Linked DNA regions of Homo sapiens: all the other regions are linked to region 2. Evidence: promoter capture Hi-C in human tissues and cell types (Jung and others, 2019). All regions are on one chromosome and are shown on one strand. The core of a region is centred on a gene start or on the middle of the fragment in contact, and the rest is flanking DNA. Distances in the headings are between cores, read along the strand shown. Region 1 overlaps TRAF2 (TNF receptor associated factor 2). Region 2 holds the start of TUBB4B (tubulin beta 4B class IVb). Region 3 holds the start of PNPLA7 (patatin like domain 7, lysophospholipase). Region 4 overlaps RABL6 (RAB, member RAS oncogene family like 6).

The links. Contacts are between HindIII fragments. The study calls those that stand out against the background at their distance.
Region 1: a contact is called between a fragment that was not itself captured here and the fragment with the promoter of TUBB4B in region 2, in 1 of the 25 tissues and cell types used here (dorsolateral prefrontal cortex).
Region 3: a contact is called between the fragment with the promoter of PNPLA7 here and the fragment with the promoter of TUBB4B in region 2, in 1 of the 25 tissues and cell types used here (spleen).
Region 4: a contact is called between a fragment that was not itself captured here and the fragment with the promoter of TUBB4B in region 2, in 1 of the 25 tissues and cell types used here (dorsolateral prefrontal cortex).

Annotation. Positions count from the first base shown.
Region 1 is chr9:136,889,854-136,895,291 of GRCh38, forward strand. All of the region lies in intron 1 of TRAF2 (TNF receptor associated factor 2), which reads left to right. Among named protein-coding and RNA genes, the nearest start is that of MIR4479, 5.8 kb to the left of the region's middle. The HindIII fragment of the contact is 4,380 bases long and covers 1-4,261 here.
Region 2 is chr9:137,238,902-137,244,231 of GRCh38, forward strand. It overlaps TUBB4B (tubulin beta 4B class IVb), which reads left to right and starts at 2,386. Exons shown (of 4, transcript NM_006088.6): 1 at 2,386-2,516; 2 at 2,820-2,928; 3 at 3,010-3,120; 4 at 3,595-4,806. The coding sequence starts at 2,460. The coding sequence ends at 4,655. CIMIP2A (ciliary microtubule inner protein 2A) reads right to left here. Exons shown (of 7, transcript NM_001001710.3): 6 at 5,270-5,330; 7 at 4,698-4,887. The coding sequence ends at 4,799. RefSeq lists silencers at 1,411-2,230, 2,561-2,790. The HindIII fragment of the contact is 17,682 bases long and covers 941-5,330 here.
Region 3 is chr9:137,549,152-137,551,651 of GRCh38, forward strand. It overlaps PNPLA7 (patatin like domain 7, lysophospholipase), which reads right to left and starts at 1,251. Exons shown (of 35, transcript NM_001098537.3): 1 at 1,017-1,251. The coding sequence starts at 1,046. RefSeq lists an enhancer at 360-861 and a silencer at 2,050-2,500. The HindIII fragment of the contact is 18,703 bases long and covers 1-2,500 here.
Region 4 is chr9:136,811,830-136,817,087 of GRCh38, forward strand. All of the region lies in intron 1 of RABL6 (RAB, member RAS oncogene family like 6), which reads left to right. It also overlaps the pseudogene NCLP1. Among named protein-coding and RNA genes, the nearest start is that of CCDC183-AS1, 5.6 kb to the left of the region's middle. The HindIII fragment of the contact is 4,462 bases long and covers 1-3,613 here.

The sequences.
Region 1 (5,438 bases), core at 822-3,321, 350 kb before region 2:
TTTGTGACAGTCATCCCCGCATGCTCATTCAGTCGGTCACCGCATGTGTGATAATCACCCCCGCATGCTTGTTCAGCTCGTCACCGCGTGTGTGAGAGTCCCCACCGCACGCTCGTTCAGCCGGTCACCGCGTGTGTGAGAGTCCCCACCGCACGCTCGTTCAGCCGGTCACCGCGTGTGTGAGTCCCCCCCGCACGCTCGTTCAGCCGGTCACCGCGTGTGTGAGTCCCCACCGCACGCTTGTTCAGCCGGTCACCGCGTGTGAGTCCCCACTGCACGCTCGTTCAGCCGGTCACCGTGTGTGTGAGAGTCCCCACCGCACGCTCGTTCAGTCGGTCACCGCATGTGTGAGAGTCCCCACCACACGCTCGTTCAGCTGGTCACCACGGGGGTGGCACTTTTGTTTTTAGCTGACTTAGCTGATAGAATTGGGAGTTTTAGAGTAAAACTGATCTGGAAGCCTGAAAAAACCAGCAGCACATTGTTCGTTTCCAGGTTGAATCGCTCCTAGCTGACCCCTCACGTCTCTTATGATACGTACAGAAAGCAAGAGCAGCCCATGCCGTCCGGCCGCGCACCAGGTCTCAGTCTGTGTGTCTGGTTCAGGTGACCATGGTGTTCAGTTCAGTTCCTCCTGCCTCGTGTGTAGGCCACTGAGAGCTCCCTAGTCTAAGCCGGAGGAGGTTCTGGTAAGTGCTAGGCACAGTGGAAGTCGGATTCCAACATGTGCGCAAATTGGGGCACTGTCAGAAGTGTGCTAAAATCTTGGTGTAGCACTTTTGAGCCTTCGTGGTGGTTTTCATTAGTTCTTAAAATGTATTTATGAATGAGATTCAAATAAAATGTTTAAGGAATCTCTAAGCACAAAGAACCCCAGAGTGTAGTGTGGGCATCAGTGGGACCTCAGGGTCCCCTGACCGGGCTGCCTGCCGTGTCCTGGCTGTCTGGGGTTGTGTTTTCATTTGGAAACAGGAATAATGATCCCCGACCTTCCAGCCGTGTCAGGATGTCACGATGGCCACGTGAGGCCGTGTCTGTGAGAAGCGTCTGCCGGTGGTGGAGGACGTGCACTTTGTTGTGAACCTCGGCTCACTGCAGCCTCCTCCTCCCCAGGCTCAGGTGATCCTCCCACCTCAGCCTCCTGAGTGGCTGGGACCACAGATGCGAGATCCTCCCACCTCGGCCTCCTGAGTAGCTGGGACCACAGATGCATGCCATCACACTTGGCCATTTTTTGTATTTTTAGATTTGTTTTTTTATGTGTGTTTTGTTTTTGAGACAGATGGTTGCTCTTGCTCAGGCTGGAGTGCAGTGGCATGATCTCAGCTCACTGCAACCTCCGCCTCTCAGGTTTGAGCGATTCTTCTGCCTCAGCCTCTGGAGTAGCTGGGCTTACAGGCTTGCACCACCATGCCTGGCTAATTTTTTGTATTTTTAGTGGAGACGGGGTCTCACCATGTTGGCCAGCCTGGTCTTGAACTCCTGACCTCATGATCCGCCCGCCTCGGCCTCCCAAAGTGCTGGGATTACAAGTGTGAGCCACCGCGCCCAGCCATTTTTTTGTGTTTTTGGTAGAGACAGGGTTTCATCATGTTCCCCAGGCTGGTCTTGAACTCCTGAGCTCAAGCAATCTGCCTACCTCGGCCTCCCAAAGTGCTGGGATTATAGGTGTGAGCCACCATGCCTGGCCCATTTTTGTGGTTCTTTTATGTCTGACAGGCATGCCTAGGGCAGGGAGGGCACACCTCTGTCTCCACCTTCAAGAGCGCATTTAGGAGGAATGTCGATATGAAAAGAATCAAGCTTTGTCTGAAAGATGCACCAGGACACTCTTCAGTGACATTGGGAAAAAAGAACGCTCACCCTGAATCTTTTTTTTTTTTTTGAGACGAAGTTTCGCTCTTTGTGCCCAAGCTGGAGAGCAGTGGTGCGATCTTGACTCTCTGCAACCTCTGCCTCCCAGGTTCAAGCGATTCTCCTGCCTCAGCCTCCCAAGTAGCTGGAATTACAGGCGTGAGCCACTGCACTCGGCTAATTTTGTGTTTTTAGTAGAAATGGGTTTCTCCATGTTGGTCAAGCTGGTCTCGATCACCACCTCAGGTGATCCACCCGCCTCAGCCTCCCAAAGTGCTGGGATTACAGGCATGAGCCACCGTGCCCGGCCCATTCTGAATCTGTCTACCCTAGCAAAACGATCCTTTATTTTACTTTCTTGCCCCATTCGTACACTGGCATGACTGCACTCATAGGGTTCTTCACATTTTATATCCTATTTAACATCTTATAATAAGTATAAAATAGGATTTTGTCCTAAAGAATGTGGTTTAAGGCCAGGCGCGGTGGCTCACGCCTGTAATCCCAGCACTTTGGGAGACCGAGGCGGGCAGATCACGAGGTCAGGAGATCGAGACCATCCTGGCTAACACGGTGAAACCCCGTCTCTACTAAAAAATACAAAAAATTAGCTGGGCATGGTGACTGGTGCCTGTAGTCCCAGCTACTTGGGAGGCTGAGGCAGGAGAATGGCGTGAACCTGGGCGGTGGAGGTTGCAGTGAGCCAAGATCGCGCCACTGCACTCCCGCCTGGGCGACAGAGCGAGACTCCGTCTCAAAAAAATAAATAAATAAAAAGAATGTGGCTTAAAAACCAATGATACTTAAAAATAGAAAATTTCTTTGTCCAAAGTGGATTAGAAGCCACTTTGTTCTAAAACCATTAAACCTTTTTAAACTGTTAGTGGCTCAGCCAGGCACAGTGGCTCATGCCTATAATCTCAGCACTTTGGGAGATTGAGGTGGGCAGATTATCTGAGGTCAGGAGTTCGAGACCAGCCTGGCCAACATGGTGAAACCCTGTCTCTACTAAAAATACAAAAATTAGCCAGGCGTGGTGACAGGCGTCTGTAATCCCAGCTACTCGGGAGGCTGAGGCAGGAGAATCGCTTGAACCTGGGAGGCGGAGGTTGCACCTTAGATCACACCGTTGCACTCCCGCCTGAGCGACAGAGCAAGACTCTGTCTCACATGAATAAATAAATAAACCATTAGTGGCTCATGAAATCAATGTAATAGCTTCTGACCAGAACAAAAGAAAGAAAATAGAACACTCAGAATGCCTCTTATGAAGACTAAGTGTAGTTCTGTGAACCTTTTAGTGACGTACATGTATGTAGCACGTCTCCACATGTCATGATGAATGTGCGCTGAGGGTGCAGTCCTGGTGAGCAGGCTACCACCTCAGTTTGCCACGGCTGGTATGCATCTGTGAGCTCCGGAACATCCACATAGCTCTGCCGCCCACAGGAGCAGGTGCACCCACCTTCGAGAAAGTGGGAGAAACAGGTGTGGCGTCCCCACCGAGGGACCTTGAGCACTGGGCAGGCAGAGCCCCAGCGTCCCTTCTGTTGGGTGGTTGGAGGAGTAAGTTTAGGTTATAAGCATGTTTTCTGAACTCTGAAGTGCCACACGAATGTAAGGTCTCACTAAATTACAGATTCAGAAGCTGGGATTGAAAGCACACCACTGCTGGCTTTGGGGGGCAGACAGGTGACTGACAGTCTCGTCACAGTTTCTCAAGAGTCAGCCCTATTCAGGTCAGTGAGCGCAGGTCAGGGATGAGGTCGCTGCACTCTGCGTTCCCCAGTCCTGTATGCGGCGTCAGTTTTGGCAGTCCACGTGTCTCTCCTGTAGAGGATTAGAGGGGCCAGCCCCATGGGTCTGCAGGGTTGGCGCACCGTCTGGGGAAGACACTTGGAATGTGCTTTCGTTGGTGAGCCAGGTCAAGGAAACTTTGGGGAATGTTTGCAGAGAGCTGAGGATGGTTGTCTTGGGGCCTAAGTTTTTCTGACTTAAAAAGCACCTCCTATTTGGGGTCTGTGTGGTAGTGACCCTTTTTCTTTTTTACTTTTTTTTTCGAGACGGAGTCTCACTGCAATGCGCAGGCTGGAGTGCAGTGGTGCAATATCGGCTCACTGCAACCTCTCCTTCCCGGGTTCAAGCGATTCTCCTGCCTCAGCCTCCTGAGTAGCTGGGATTACAGGCGTGCACCACCACGCCCGGCTAATTTTTGTATTTTTACTAGAGATGGGGTTTCACCATGTTGGTCGGGCTGGTCTCAAACTCCTGACCTCGTGATTCTCCTGCCTTGGCCTCCGAAAGTGCTGGGATTACAGGTGTGAGCCACTGCGCCTGGCCTTTTTTTTTTTTTTTTTGAAATGGAGTCTTGCCTCATCGCCCAGGCTGGAGTGAAGTGGTATGATCTCAGCTCACTGCAACCTCTGCTTGCTGGGTTCAAGCAATTCTCCTGCTTCAGCCTCCACAGTAGCTGGGATTACAGGCACACACCACAATGTCCGGCTAATTTTTGTATTTTTAGTAGAGACAGGGTTTCACCATGTTGGCCAGGATGGTCTCGATCTCTTGACCTCGTGATCTGCCTGCTTCGGCCTCCCAAAGTGCTGGGATTACAGGCGTGAGCCACCGCACCTGGCTGGTAGTGGCCCTTTTTCAGGGGTTTACAGGTAAACTTTCCTTCCACTTTTTGAGATCTGGGGACATTACATGGGAGTTGGAGGCAAGTCTCGGAAGGCTGCTGGGCCTTGTCCTGGGCGCAGGCTTCTTAGGCCCACCTCAGGGTTGCCAAGGGGCAGGTGTGCAGATCCATAGGGACCAGCACCGGGGCTCTTCCAAGCAGGGCAAAGGTGTTAAGGGAACAGAGGAGAGCAGGGGGATTGGGGGCATCATGAGGATGGAGGGGGACAAGGCCAGATGGGGCTAAACCCAGTGGCCGGGTTTCCTTCTGAGTGCCCAGGATGTTCCTAGGGAGCCCTCAGTGAGGGGTGCCCTATTGTGGGTATGAAGGAGGAGCAGAGAGCAGGGTCGGGGCCAGAGAAGGGGCTAGTGCTGGCAGCATGGAGGCAGAGCCAGTGGAATTGGCCTGTGATTGGACAAGGAATGGGCTCAGAAAGCATCCTGGATAGCTGGGCATGGAGGTGCACTCACCTGTAGTCCCAGCCACTGGAGAAACTGGCGGGAGGATCGCTTGAGCCCAGGACTTCCAACCTGTAGTGTGCATGATCACACTTGTGAATAGACAGCGTACTCCAGCTAGGGAAACATAGTGAGACCCCTGTTTCTAAAGAAAAATGAAAGCCTCCTGGGTTTGGCTGAGTCCCTGGTGAATGGTGGAGCGGTCCTGAGAGCTGGGAAGACCTCTTTCTGGCACAGCAACCGGGGCAGAGGTGAGAGGAGAAGGGCCTCAGCAGTGTTCTGGCCTTTTGGGTTCATCCAAAACTTGCCGGTCCTGGGCCTGCTGGGAGAGGTCAGCCCCTTTCAGGTGAGCAGCTCTGGGGCCGGGTGACCCACGCCACCGTGTCGGGCACACAGTGGTGCTTCGTTTTCCTCACTCCTGGGGCCACAGCCTTCCTGCTGCGGTTCTG
Region 2 (5,330 bases), core at 1,136-3,635:
ACCTGGGATGGCTGGCAGCAACCTGTGCACCCCTCAGGCCGCTGCAGGACCCCAGTCCCTCTGAGGGTCAAGGCCTGTGTCACAGTGGTCACTGGAAGCCAGGCCCGCCTTCCTGGGCTGATCTGTGGGGGAGGCCACCCTCCTGGACAGGATGGCAAACTGGCAACAGACCCCCGAGGAGTGAGCACAGCTGCAGGCCCTCGCCCCAGAAGGACAATGCTGATCCCCGCGCATGCTCCGGTGCTGCGTGTCCCGAGTTCTGGTATCGCGCATTATGTGGTGAAGACAGAGGTGCAGTCCCTCCAGGAAGAGAGAAATAAATAAGCAGATGTTGTTTCCAACAGCCTCCAATTGGGAGACAGATGCCCAGTGGCCAGAGCACAGGAGACTGTCAGGGCCGACCTGATGGTGTAATTTATTTAAAATGCTACAAAAATACAGCCAGGTGCAGTGGCTCATGCCTGTAATCCCAGCACTTTGGGAGGCCGAGGCGAATGAATCACAAGGTCAGTTCCAGACCAGCCTGGCCAAGATGGTGAAACCCCATCTCTATTAAAAATACAGAAATTAGCCGGGCGTGGTGGCGGGCGCCTGTAATCCCAGCTACTCGGGAGGCTGAGGCAGGAGAATCGCTTGAACCCGGGAGATGGAGGTTGCAGTGAGCCGAGATCATGCCACTGCACTCCAGCCTGAGCGACGGAGCCAGACTCTGTCTCAAAAAAAAAAAAAAAAAAAAATAGCCAGGCGTGGTGGTGCACACCTGTAGTTCCAGCTACTTGGGAAGGTGAGGCAGGCGAATTGCTTGAACCGGGGAGGCAGAGGTTGCAGCGAGCTGAGATTGCGCCACTGCACTCCAGCCTAGGCGACAAGAGCAAAACTCCATCTCAAAAAAAAAAGAAAAAAGCTACAAAAATGTAGAAGGCACGGCGGCTCATTCCCGTAAATCCGAGCACTTGGGGAGGCCGAGGCGGGCGGATCACTTGAGGTCAGGAGTTTCAGACCAGCTTGGCCAACATGGTGAAATCCCATTTCTACCAAAAATACAAAAATTAGCGGCGTGGTGGTGGGTGCCTGCAGTCCCACCTACTGGGGAGGCTGAGGCAGAAGAATCGCTTGAACCTGGGGGGGGGCGGGGAGCCAAGATCGCGCCACTGCACTCCAGCCCGGGAGACAGAGCGAGACTCTGTCTCAGAATAATAAATTAAGTAAAATAAAAATGCTGCAAAAATACAGCCCGTTTGTTTTTAAACAGGCGCAACCACATGTAATTCATTTTAAGTTTCTTTTCCCACCCAAGTAAAAATCAAGTCATAAATTAGGAAAAGCATTAACAGAAGTATGTTTCAGCCCCAGCGCGCTGACCTGTGGTTGGAATACCGGCCCTGGAGCCCGGAGGTCGGGGCCCACCCGCCGAGGGAGGTCTGGGCGCTGTCCTGGTCTCCACGGAGCTCGCGCACTCACGGGGCCGAGGCACCAAGGCGACCGGCGCAGAGCCAGCGCCGTCTCCACAACAGGGCAGGGCGCGCAGCTGCGGGGGAGGCCTCGCCCCTCCGCTCCCCTCCCCTGCCCTCCGCCCCGGCCCTCGGGGCGCGGCGTCCCCCACGTGCTCCCCTCACGCGACCGCGAGGGCAGTGGGCGTGCGGCACCCGGGAGCAGGAAACTCCGTGGCCTCTGCGGCTCTGTGGAGAGCTCCCCTCCACCGCCGCAGCCCCCGAGCCCGTGTATCTTCCTGCCTTTAAGGCATCGCAGCCTCCTCGGCCTGGAGGCCCCGGGCTCGCTCCGTGCGGACCCCGCTCCAGAACCCGCCCAGCGCGCAGATGCCGTGTCCCGGCGCAAGGCCAGAGAGGGCGCAACTCTGGACGTGGGGCCGCCACCGAGCCTGCCCTTCCCGGCTCCCGAAAGGCCCCGGGCTCAGAGCCAAGACTGCGCTTGCCCGAGGCCCGTCGGGCCCGCCCTCCCTCGGCGCCCCCAGCGCAGCTGCCCGCCGCCCGACCGGAAGCCCGCACTCGCGCCTGCGCCCCACCCCGTCCGCGCGCCGGCCGCGGCACTGCGGCGGTTACCAGGACGCTGAAGCAGCGCAGCCAATAGCGCCAGCCTGGCGGCGTGCTCCCGGCAGCCAGCCAATGAGACGGCAAATCAATCATTTGAAACACCCAATGGACGGAGCACTGCGGCGCCAGGAGGGGGATTGTGATAGGGAGATAGGAGGCTGCGGCTGACCAATAAAGACCAAACTGGCTTAAAAAGGCGGACCTTAGGCAGCTTGATTGACGGGGGCAAGGCCAATCAAACGAGGGAGCTTGCCAGCCTCGTTCTGGCAGCCCATTCCGAGACTAGCGGAGGCGGGCAGGGAGGGTATATAAGCGTTGGCGGAGCGTCGGTTGTAGCACTCTGCGCGCCCGCTCTTCTGCTGCTGTTTGTCTACTTCCTCCTGCTTCCCCGCCGCCGCCGCCGCCATCATGAGGGAAATCGTGCACTTGCAGGCCGGGCAGTGCGGCAACCAAATCGGCGCCAAGGTAAGTTGCCGGGGCGCTGGGGCCAGGCGGGCCTGCCGGGCGGTGTGGGCGGGCGGCCGGGGAAGATGGCGGCAGCAGCGGCCGGGCGGCGCCCCCGCATTGCGGCCGCCGGGCCCCCTCCGCGGGGAATTGGCCGAGCCGGGCGACCGAAGCCCCCAGGAACCCGGCGGCCAGGGCGCGCGGGGCGGGGGAGGGGCGGGGAGGGCCGGGCTGCCGCGCCCGTCCGGGGCGGGGCTGCCTCCCTGCGCACCGGCCGCGGTGACTCAGCCCCGGCCCGCCCGGGCCCGCCCGCGTCCCTTGTAGTTTTGGGAGGTGATCAGCGATGAGCACGGCATCGACCCCACGGGCACCTACCACGGGGACAGCGACCTGCAGCTGGAACGCATCAACGTGTACTACAATGAGGCCACCGGTGAGGCCCCGGCCCCTTCCCCGACCGCCCTCCGGGGACCCCGCGGCCCCTGCCTTGGCTGACGCCCTCCCGTCCCCGCAGGCGGCAAGTACGTGCCCCGCGCCGTGCTCGTGGATCTGGAGCCCGGCACCATGGACTCCGTGCGCTCGGGGCCCTTCGGGCAGATCTTCCGGCCGGACAACTTCGTTTTCGGTGAGCCGTGGCTGGGGACTGGGCGGCGGCTCAAAGGTCAAGGGGCTGCTCCAAGGGCACCGCCGTGGGAACTGCGCAGCCGGGGCCCCTGGACGCCCTCCTCTTCTCTGAGCCACTCAATCCCCTCTACTAAATCGGCTTTGGGAGCAAGGTCCAGCTGTCTGCCGAGGCGAGGAGCCGCCACACACGTAATCTCCCTGCAGGGAGCTGAGCTGGGGCAGTGGCTGTTCCTCTGTCCTTGGGAATTGGCAGTGGCCCCCCCGGGGAGGGGTTTGTTAAGCTGTCAGGTTTGGCCCCTGACTTAATTCGTAGCAGGGCAGGCTGCCGTCTTTTGGCTTTGAAGGGTCCGTTTGCTCTACCTCCAGGGTGAATTCTGTGGTCAGCTCACACCATGTCACTCGGCTTTTTTCGCATGGCGGTGACCAGTAGTGCTGTCTACCTGGCTGACAAATGATTAGCTGTGTTCTCTCACAGGTCAGAGTGGTGCTGGGAACAACTGGGCCAAGGGGCACTACACAGAAGGCGCGGAGCTGGTGGACTCGGTGCTGGATGTTGTGAGAAAGGAGGCTGAGAGCTGTGACTGCCTGCAGGGTTTCCAGCTGACCCACTCCCTGGGTGGGGGGACTGGGTCTGGGATGGGTACCCTCCTCATCAGCAAGATCCGGGAGGAGTACCCAGACAGGATCATGAACACGTTTAGTGTGGTGCCTTCGCCCAAAGTGTCAGACACAGTGGTGGAGCCCTACAACGCCACCCTCTCAGTCCACCAGCTCGTAGAAAACACAGACGAGACCTACTGCATTGATAACGAAGCTCTCTACGACATTTGCTTCAGAACCCTAAAGCTGACCACGCCCACCTATGGTGACCTGAACCACCTGGTGTCTGCTACCATGAGTGGGGTCACCACCTGCCTGCGCTTCCCAGGCCAGCTCAATGCTGACCTGCGGAAGCTGGCTGTGAACATGGTCCCGTTTCCCCGGCTGCACTTCTTCATGCCCGGCTTTGCCCCACTGACCAGCCGGGGCAGCCAGCAGTACCGGGCGCTGACCGTGCCCGAGCTCACCCAGCAGATGTTTGATGCCAAGAACATGATGGCTGCCTGCGACCCCCGCCATGGCCGCTACCTGACGGTTGCCGCCGTGTTCAGGGGCCGCATGTCCATGAAGGAGGTGGATGAGCAAATGCTTAATGTCCAAAACAAAAACAGCAGCTATTTTGTTGAGTGGATCCCCAACAATGTGAAAACGGCTGTCTGTGACATCCCACCTCGGGGGCTAAAAATGTCCGCCACCTTCATTGGCAACAGCACGGCCATCCAGGAGCTGTTCAAGCGCATCTCCGAGCAGTTCACGGCCATGTTCCGGCGCAAGGCCTTCCTGCACTGGTACACGGGCGAGGGCATGGACGAGATGGAGTTCACCGAGGCCGAGAGCAACATGAATGACCTGGTGTCCGAGTACCAGCAGTACCAGGATGCCACAGCCGAGGAGGAGGGCGAGTTCGAGGAGGAGGCTGAGGAGGAGGTGGCCTAGAGCCTTCAGTCACTGGGGAAAGCAGGGAAGCAGTGTGAACTCTTTATTCACTCCCAGCCTGTCCTGTGGCCTGTCCCACTGTGTGCACTTGCTGTTTTCCCTGTCCACATCCATGCTGTACAGACACCACCATTAAAGCATTTTCATAGTGTGTGGTTTCGCTTTGCCCATTCCTTCCAGTAGGCCCTCCGGGTGCTGTTGCCGAATGTCAGGGCGTAGTTGTCCTGCATGGCTGCGGGGAGCCAGGCTGCAGCTGAGCTGGGCTTATGTGCCCAGGACCAGCATGGGCTGGACACCCAGGCTTCAGAGAAGTGTGGGGCTGCCCTGGGCCCTGGGTATCTGCTTGGTGGGGAACTTGCTTGTTGAAGGCAGGCCTGTCCTGTTCCAGGTACCCAACCTTGGGGCTCGGCCTGTGTCTGGGACTTAGGTGGGTCCAGTGACCCCCCTTCCAAAAGGGGTAGGGAGGATGGCAGACAATCCTACCCCAACCAAGGTGGGACCCTGGTAATGGTCAGACAGGTGGTCCTGAACCAGCAATGAAGGGTGAGCAGGTAGAGCCGTCCCTCCCCACATTGGCCGGGGTGTGTCCATGTGACCCTGCCCACTCTACTCACCGGGGATGAACCCCATGTAGAAGGGGATCAGGCCTTGGCTGCTGTAGATGTGGTTGCTGGG
Region 3 (2,500 bases), core at 1-2,500, 310 kb after region 2:
AGGCCTTTGCCATGTGGCTACAGATGTTTGACTAAGAAAAAGATTCTAGGGCTGGGCACAGTGTCTCACGCCTGTAATCCCAGCACTTTGGGAGGCCGAGGCGGGCAGATCATGAGGTCAAGAGTTCAAGACTAGGCCGGGCACGGTGGCTCATGCCTGTAATCCCTGCACTTTGGGAGGCCAAGGCGGGCGGATCACGAGGTCAGGAAATCGAGACCATCCTGGCTAACACAGTGAAACACCGTCTCTACTGAAAATACAAAAAAATATTAGCCGGGCGTGGTGGTGGGCGCCTGTAGTCCCAGCTACTTGGGAGGCCGAGGCAGGAGAATGGCGTGAACCTGGGAGGCAGAGCTTGCAGTGAGTTGAGATCGTGCCACTGCAATCCAGCTTGGGCGACAGAGCAAGACTCCGTCTCAAAAAAAAAAAAAAAAAAAGTTCAAGACCAGCCTGGCCAACATGGCGAAACCCCGTTTCTACTAAGAATACAAAAATTAGCCGGGCGTGGTGCCTGTAGTCCCAGCTACCCGGGAGGCTGAGGCAGAATTGCCTGAACCCAGGAGGCGGAGGTTGCTGTGAGCCAAGATCACACCATTGCACACCAGCCTGGGCGACAGAGCGAGACTCCGTCTTGGGAAAAAAAAAAACACAGAAAAAGGTTCTAAGCAAAACCATCAGGCAAAGTCCTAAAGGAACTGGAAGTAGCAACTGTGACCTTAGGGGAAGAAAAGACAAGGCCTCAGGCAATGCCCATGGGCCACCGCTGGCTGCCCTCGCTGTGAACAATGCCCATGGGCCACCACTGGCTGTCTGCTGTGACAGGCGCGTCTAACAAGTGCTGGCAGCTGTGACAGGCAGCAGAGAGGGGCCAGATCCACCACTCCCACAGTCCTCAGGCGCCAAGAAGCCACGGGGCCAAAGAGCGCGGCAGAGCAGACGCCAAGAGGACCCTTCTCTGGGTCCAGAAATGCCCCCCAACTGGGAAATCCAGGCATCTGGTCCCCCGAGTTACATACCTGTGGGCTGTCATCTTTCTCTTCCTCCATGGCCAGAAACAGAAAAAACAGTCAGGGGCGAAAAGCAGACAGCCTGAAGCAAACAAGGGCACACCTCTACCCGCTCATGCTCACACCTGGACACTTTTCCCTGGGTTCCTTTCAAGTCAAATTATGTTTCACTGAAAGGAAAATCCTGCTGAAAAAGTCTGTTCTCCAGGAAGAAAAGCTGTCTTTTGAGAAGTGTCTGTCATCTGCTAGGAGCCACCTCCTTCCCTCTGTAAACAGCCCTCACGTGGCTGTCCCGGAACCCAGAACAGCAGCCAGATGGGGCGTATCCAAGCAGGTCAAGAGGAGCCAGGCCCAGCGCGGCGGGGATGGGGGCAGCGCTGCCTTCTGGAGAAGCACGGCTGGAGGGGAGGTGACGCTGGCGGGGCGTGGATCCGGGGTGTGGGGATGCAGCTGGGGAGGAGGGTGCAGCTGGGGAGGGGGTGGATCCGGCGTGTAGGGGTACCGCTGGGGAGTGGGTGCAGCTGGGGAGGGGGTGGATCTGGGGTGTGGGGGTGCCGCTGGGGAGTGGGTGCAGCTGGGGAGGGGGTGGATCCGGCGTGTAGGGGTACCGCTGGGGAGTGGGTGCAGCTGGGGAGGGGGTGGATCTGGGGTGTGGGGGTACTGCTGGGGAGAGGGTGCAGCTGGGGAGCGCGTGGATCCGGCGAGTGGGGGTACCGCTAGGGAGGGGGTGCAGCTGGGGAGGGGGTGGATCTGGGGTGTGGGGGTGCCGCTGGGGAGGGGGTGCAGCTGGGGAGGGGGTGGATCTGGGGCGTGGGGGTGCCGCTGGGGAGGGGGTGCAGCTGGGGAGGGGGTGGATCTGGGGCGTGGGGGTGCCGCTGGGGAGGGGGTGCAGCTGGGGAGGGGATGGATCTGGGGTGTGGGGGTACCGCTGGGGAAGGGCGTGCAGCTGGAGAGGGGATGGATCTGGGCTGTGGGGGTGCCGCTGGGGACGGGGTGCAGCTGGGGAGGGGGTGGATCCGGATTGTGAGGGTGCGGCTGGGGGGCGACTTCCGCGTGGGGTGAGAGGTCGCCTGCGAGGGTGACCGGGCAGGAGGGCTCAGTGCGCAAGCCGGACGTGCTGGGTCCAAGATTATTGATTAATTTGGGCACCGCGAGGGCTCGAGTCCCCCCACACCACTGCCCGGCCTGCGGGGGAGCACAGACAGCCCGGGCCCTCCCGGCTGCAGGTCCCGGGCTTTCCCCGCGCGGTTGCCGGCTCCGCCCAGAGGAGCCGCGCCCGGCGGAGGGGTAAGAAAGGCAGGGTCGCGGCGTCAACGCGGCGGCCGTCTCGAGTCCAGGGCCCGCGTCCTCCCCGACCTCCCGACGCCACCTCACGGCCTCAGGGGGACTGGGCTCCCGGGAAACCGCCGGCCACCTGGCGGACGAACACAGGCAGTGGCGGGCAGTGGAGACGCCAGGGACCACCGCGCTGAGAGCGATCACTCATCCGCCAG
Region 4 (5,258 bases), core at 133-2,632, 430 kb before region 2:
GTTAAATGCTGGTGAGCTTTTCCTGAATTCCAGAAGGGAGGAGGCCACAATGAGGCCTGTCTGACTCCCCTCTTCCCATAATGGCCTGAACCAGTCTTTCAGATGAAATTTGGATGGCCCTGGCCTAGAAGAGGAAGTCCATTCAGATGGTTGGCAGGCCTTGGGATTTTAATTTTGGTTTACACAATTTTGAAATTATTTGCATATAAAATTATTAGGAAAATTATTTGAAATTATTTGGAAGAAAGATTGTTGCCTGAGTTGGTCTGTCCCTTTCTACTGTGACTGGACACAAAATATCAGTTGTATTTGGTGCAGAATTTTTCTGTGGAGTTGCTCCTGAGTGAGCATTATTGTGCAGCTCTGATACTGGCCTGGCCCAGGAGCTCGGACAACCAGAGTCCTCTCTGAGTAGACACTGGTGCGAATTTAGAAATGGGACTTAGCAGGCCGGGCACGGTGGCTCACACCTGTAATCCCAGCACTTTGGGAGGCTGAGGTGGGCGGATTACATGAGGTCAGGAGTTCAAGACCAACCTGGCCAACATGATGAAACTCATCTCTACTGAAAATATGAAAATTAGCCAGGTGTGGTGGCGTATGCCTGTAATCCCAGCTACTCGGGAGGCTGAGGCAGGAGAATCGCTTGAACCCGGGAGGCAGAGGTTGCCGTGAGCCAAGATCACACCACTGCGCTCCAGCCTGGGCGACAGAGTGAGACTTCGTCTTAAAAAAAAAAGAAAAGAAAGAAAAGTTTATATGAATATCCAGTCAAAACAAACAAGGAAGGTATTACCCTTGAAATGTTGTCTATACGAATTTCCAAGGAGACCACAGGACTGTAGACTGTCTTGGAATGTCCTCAGAGAGCTCTGTCATTGATCAGGTAACGGAATAAAAACCCCAGCGTCCTTTCTTTCAAATGGGAGAGGGAAAGACAAAGGGACAGAAGCCGTTCAAACTTTGTCTTCTTTCCTTGTGGCTTGTGGTCACCTCTGCCTCCCCAGAAGCTGCCTCGCCCACCAAAGCCTTCCTGGCTTCTGCCACCACCTCATCCTCCAAAGCTTCCTCTACCTCCATCACAACCCCAAAGCCACCTTCGCCCTTAGGTTTGGCCCAGTCCAAGTTACCTTTGTTTCCCTCAATTTCACCATCTTCCGCGGCCTCCTTGGCGCTTTTGGCATCCTCCTCACTGTTGCCATCTACAGAGCCAAAGCCTTTGGGGCACCCGGTTTCCTGGTTGGTGACTACCCTTGCCCAACAAAGCTGTCGAATGACTAAAGCCTCTTCAGTGGTGTCCTCAGACAGGCCTTTGACAGACAGTTTTAGATGGCTGGCTCCTGGCATCAGGTGGTCCTTGCAACTCCAGCCTGATTGCCCTGCCCCCAGTTTCCCTTTTATTACAGGAATTTAAAGCTGCTTTATCATCTTCAAATGAAGCGAACTGTAAGTGCATGCACACCCTTTAGATTTGCCATTTTGGTTCTGGGGCACTTTGATAAAAGTTGCCTTGTCTCAGATTCTTTCTGAAGAGTTTCTTCTGTTGCACTGTAGGAGAGGTTGCTTAAACCAGAGTTTTTGATTCACCCCTCCAAGTGGTCTCTCTAGTCTTGATTTAGACCTTTCTCTCCATGATAGTGCAGGGAAATAGATCGGCCATCCATCTCTGTTCCCTGCGTTTCTTCAGAAGTTTTCTCTGCATTAGCTTCTGTCTTAACCTCAATATAAGCAGTCCCTTTACTCTTCCCATCCTTGCTGACTAATCCAATCTCCACAGCATCTTCAAACACTTTTTTGTTTTTTGAGCCAGAGTCTCGCTCTGTTGCCCAGGCTGGAGTGCAGTGGCCGTGATCTCAGCTCACTGCAAGCTCCACCTCCCAAGTTTGCGCCATTTTCCTGCCTCAGCCTCCCGAGTAGCTGGGACTACAGGCACCCGTCACCACACCCAGCTAATTTTTTGTATTTTTAGTAGAGACAGGGTTTCACCGTGTTAGCCAGGATGGTCTTGATCTCCTGACCTCGTGATCTGCCTGCCTTGGCCTCCCAAAGTGCTGGGATTACAGGTGTGAGCCACTGCGCCACTGCGCCCAGCCAAAACACTTGTAATTCATCCTGAGTGACTTTGTAAGGGAGATTTGTAGCCAAAAGTATTCTCACATCTTGCTCTTTCTTACTGTCTTTTCCTTTTGGTTTCTCTAGTTTAATTTCATTGCCAAAGTCTTTCAAACCAGCGAGTTCCAAGGCTCTTTCCAGGTCTTCAGCAGCTTGAAAATCCACATAGTCAGATTTCCTTGTCATACCCATTCTGACATCCACAACAGCAAGATCATTTTTAGCAAAAATATCATGGATACTAGTTTTTGTTTTTCTTTCTTTTTCGAGACAGGGTCTTGCTCTGTTACCCAGGCTGGAGTGCAATGGTGCTCACTGCAGCTTCCACCTCCCGGGTTCAAGTGATTCTCCTGCCTCAGCCTCCCCAGTAGCTGGGACTACAGGCACGCACCACTACGCCCGGCTAATTTTTGTATTTTTAGTAGAGACAGGGTTTCATTATGTTGGCCAGGCTGGTCTCAAACTCCTGACCTTGTGATCTGTCCACCTCAGCCTCCCAAAGTGCTGGGATTACAGGCGTGAGCCACCAGGCCTGGCCCATGGATACTAGTTTTTAACTCAGGAGCAGACTTGTTAAAGTTCAGGTTTCCAACAAAGATTGAAAGACGTTCCAGCCTGGCCAACATGGTGAAACCCCGTCTCTACTAAAAATACAAAAATTAGCCGGGTGGTAGTGGTACACGCCTGTAATCCCAGCTACTCAGGAGGCTGAAGCAGGAGAATCACTTGAGCCTGGCAGGTGAAGGTTGCAGTGAGCCAAGATTGCGCCACTGCAGTCCAACCTGGGCGAGAGAGTGAGACCCTGTCTTAAAAAAAAAAAAAAGGCACAGTTGGTTCTGTGCTTCTCACTCTCCACTTTGTGTTTCTTGGCTTCAGAAGCTGCTGTTTGGTCATTTCCTTCATTTTCCAGGTGCTTCTTTGACAGACCCTTCCTCCTCTTTGTCGTCTTCATCACTTCATCCTCTTCATCATCGTCACCCTCGTCCTTGTCCTCATCATCCTCTTCATCTTCATTCCCAGCCATCCTCTTGGCTTTCCCAGGAACAGCATTTGTAGAAGCTTTCTTTCCTTTGGCTGGTGTTGTTTCCATAGGTGCTGCTTCAGAGCCATCTTCCTCAGCATCGTCCTCATCGTCCTCGTCCTCATCCCCTGAGGCAGGGGCACCCGCTGCTGCCTTCATCACTGCTGGTTCAGAGTCATCCTCCTCCTCATCGCTGTCTTCCTTCTTGGCGTTCTTGCCGTTCTTTGCCCCCTTGGCTGGGGTGTCCCTTCTTGCCAGGAGCTGCTGCCAGTGCTTTGCCTGCTATGGCTCCCTTCTTGGCAGGTGTGGCGACTGCTTTGCCTGGAGTGACAGTTGCTTTCTTGGTGGGTGTGGCACCTGCAGCCTTTTTTGTTCGGGAAACTGTCACCTTCTTGGCTGGGGTTGCAGCAGCCTTCTTGCCTTTCTCCTGAGGTGTGACAGTCTCTTCTCCACAGCTGTCATCTTCTTCATCTTCTGACATTTCCTCATCTTCACTTCCTCCTTCTGCCTCCTTTGGGGGAGCAGCCATTTTCTTGGGGTCACCTTGGTTTTTACCTGCCTCGACACCAAGTAGTCTGAAGCTGCTGAGGATGGGAAATCTTTGCAGGGTGCAGAGTGGGAGAGGAGCAAGGTGTGGCTGACACCAGCTGCAGCACAGGCTGTCAGGGTGGGGAGGTGGCTGGGCCCTTGTAATGGGCCCAGGAGATGCTGCTGGCACTGTGAGAGGGCCTGGTTAGGAGTTAAACCTTCATGCATCTGAGATAAATCATAAGCTCTTCTTGGTATGAAAATGTAAGAAAATTATTCCATATTTTGCAGGAAAGCTGCAGGAATGTGAAGGAGTTAAATTGAATCAGGGTAAGAAAGGCTCAGGGCCTCAAATAGAGCTCTGTGTTTTCTGCATTGTATCTTCTAAAACAAGCTTAGAACAGAGGTCGTGTTCACATCCCGTTTAGTAAAAGAGCAGGTTTACCATGAGGTTAAGTACAGGTAAGTACAGGGCTTCTTAGCGTTTCTTGGATGAATCCTAAAGGTTTTCCAGGAGAATCACTTAGCTTATTGCAGCCAACATTTAAGATTCTGAAGTTAAGCAGAAAAAAAGAAAACCCAAGATCAAGGGACCAGCAGGAGAAAAAAAAGATTCTGAAATTGATTTTATTTATTTAGGGTCTTGCTCTTTCGCCTGAACTGGAGTGCAGTGGCGCAATCTTGACTCACTGCAGCCTTCACCTCCCTGGCTCAAGCAATCTTCCCACCTCAGCCTCCTGAGTAGCTGGGACTACAGGTGCACGCCACCATGCCTGGCTGAGTTTTGTAATTTTTGTAGAGACAGTGTTTCACCATGTTGCCCAGGCTGGTCTCAAACTCCTGGGCCCAAGCGATCCATCTGCCTTGGCCTCCCAAAGTGCTGGCATTACAGGAGAGAGCCACTGCGACCAGCCTAACTTTTTAACTTAAAAGTAGAGGTTAAGTTGGGCATGGTGCCTCACTCCTGTAATCCCAGCACTTTGGGAGGCCGAGGTTGGTGGATCACTTGAGGTCAGGAGTTTGAGACCAGCCTGGCCAACATGGCAAAACCCTGTCTCTACTAAAAATAACAAAAATTAGCTGGGTGTGATGGGCACATGCCTGTAATCCCAGCTACTCAGGAGGCGGAGGCAGGAGAATTGCTTGAGCCTGGGAGGTGGAGGTTGCAGTGGGTCGAGATCGCGCCACTGCACTCCAGCCTGGGTGACAGAGTGAGACTCTGTCTCAAAAAAAAGGGGGGGGGGGTAATTTTTTAAAATAATTAAATCAGATTATTTTACTTGCCTTATTTCTGATGTTACAGGATTTCTTGTAATTAGCTTTTTTAAAAAAGAGTTTGTGGCCATATAGTAGGTGTGTATATGGGTAATTAGCTTTTAAAAGGAGTAAATTTCATTTCAAGGGAGAGAAAATAAGACTCTTCATTCTCAAAATGTGAAGATAATAGAAAACAAATGTATGTTAAAATTGATAAAGATGTAAAAGGAAGCAATCTTAAGACTAGTCAAGACTGTATGCCCATGATATGTGCAATTATTATGTCAATTATAAATACAAAAAACCATGAGCAGACAGTTTATGTTTGAAAAAGAAACAG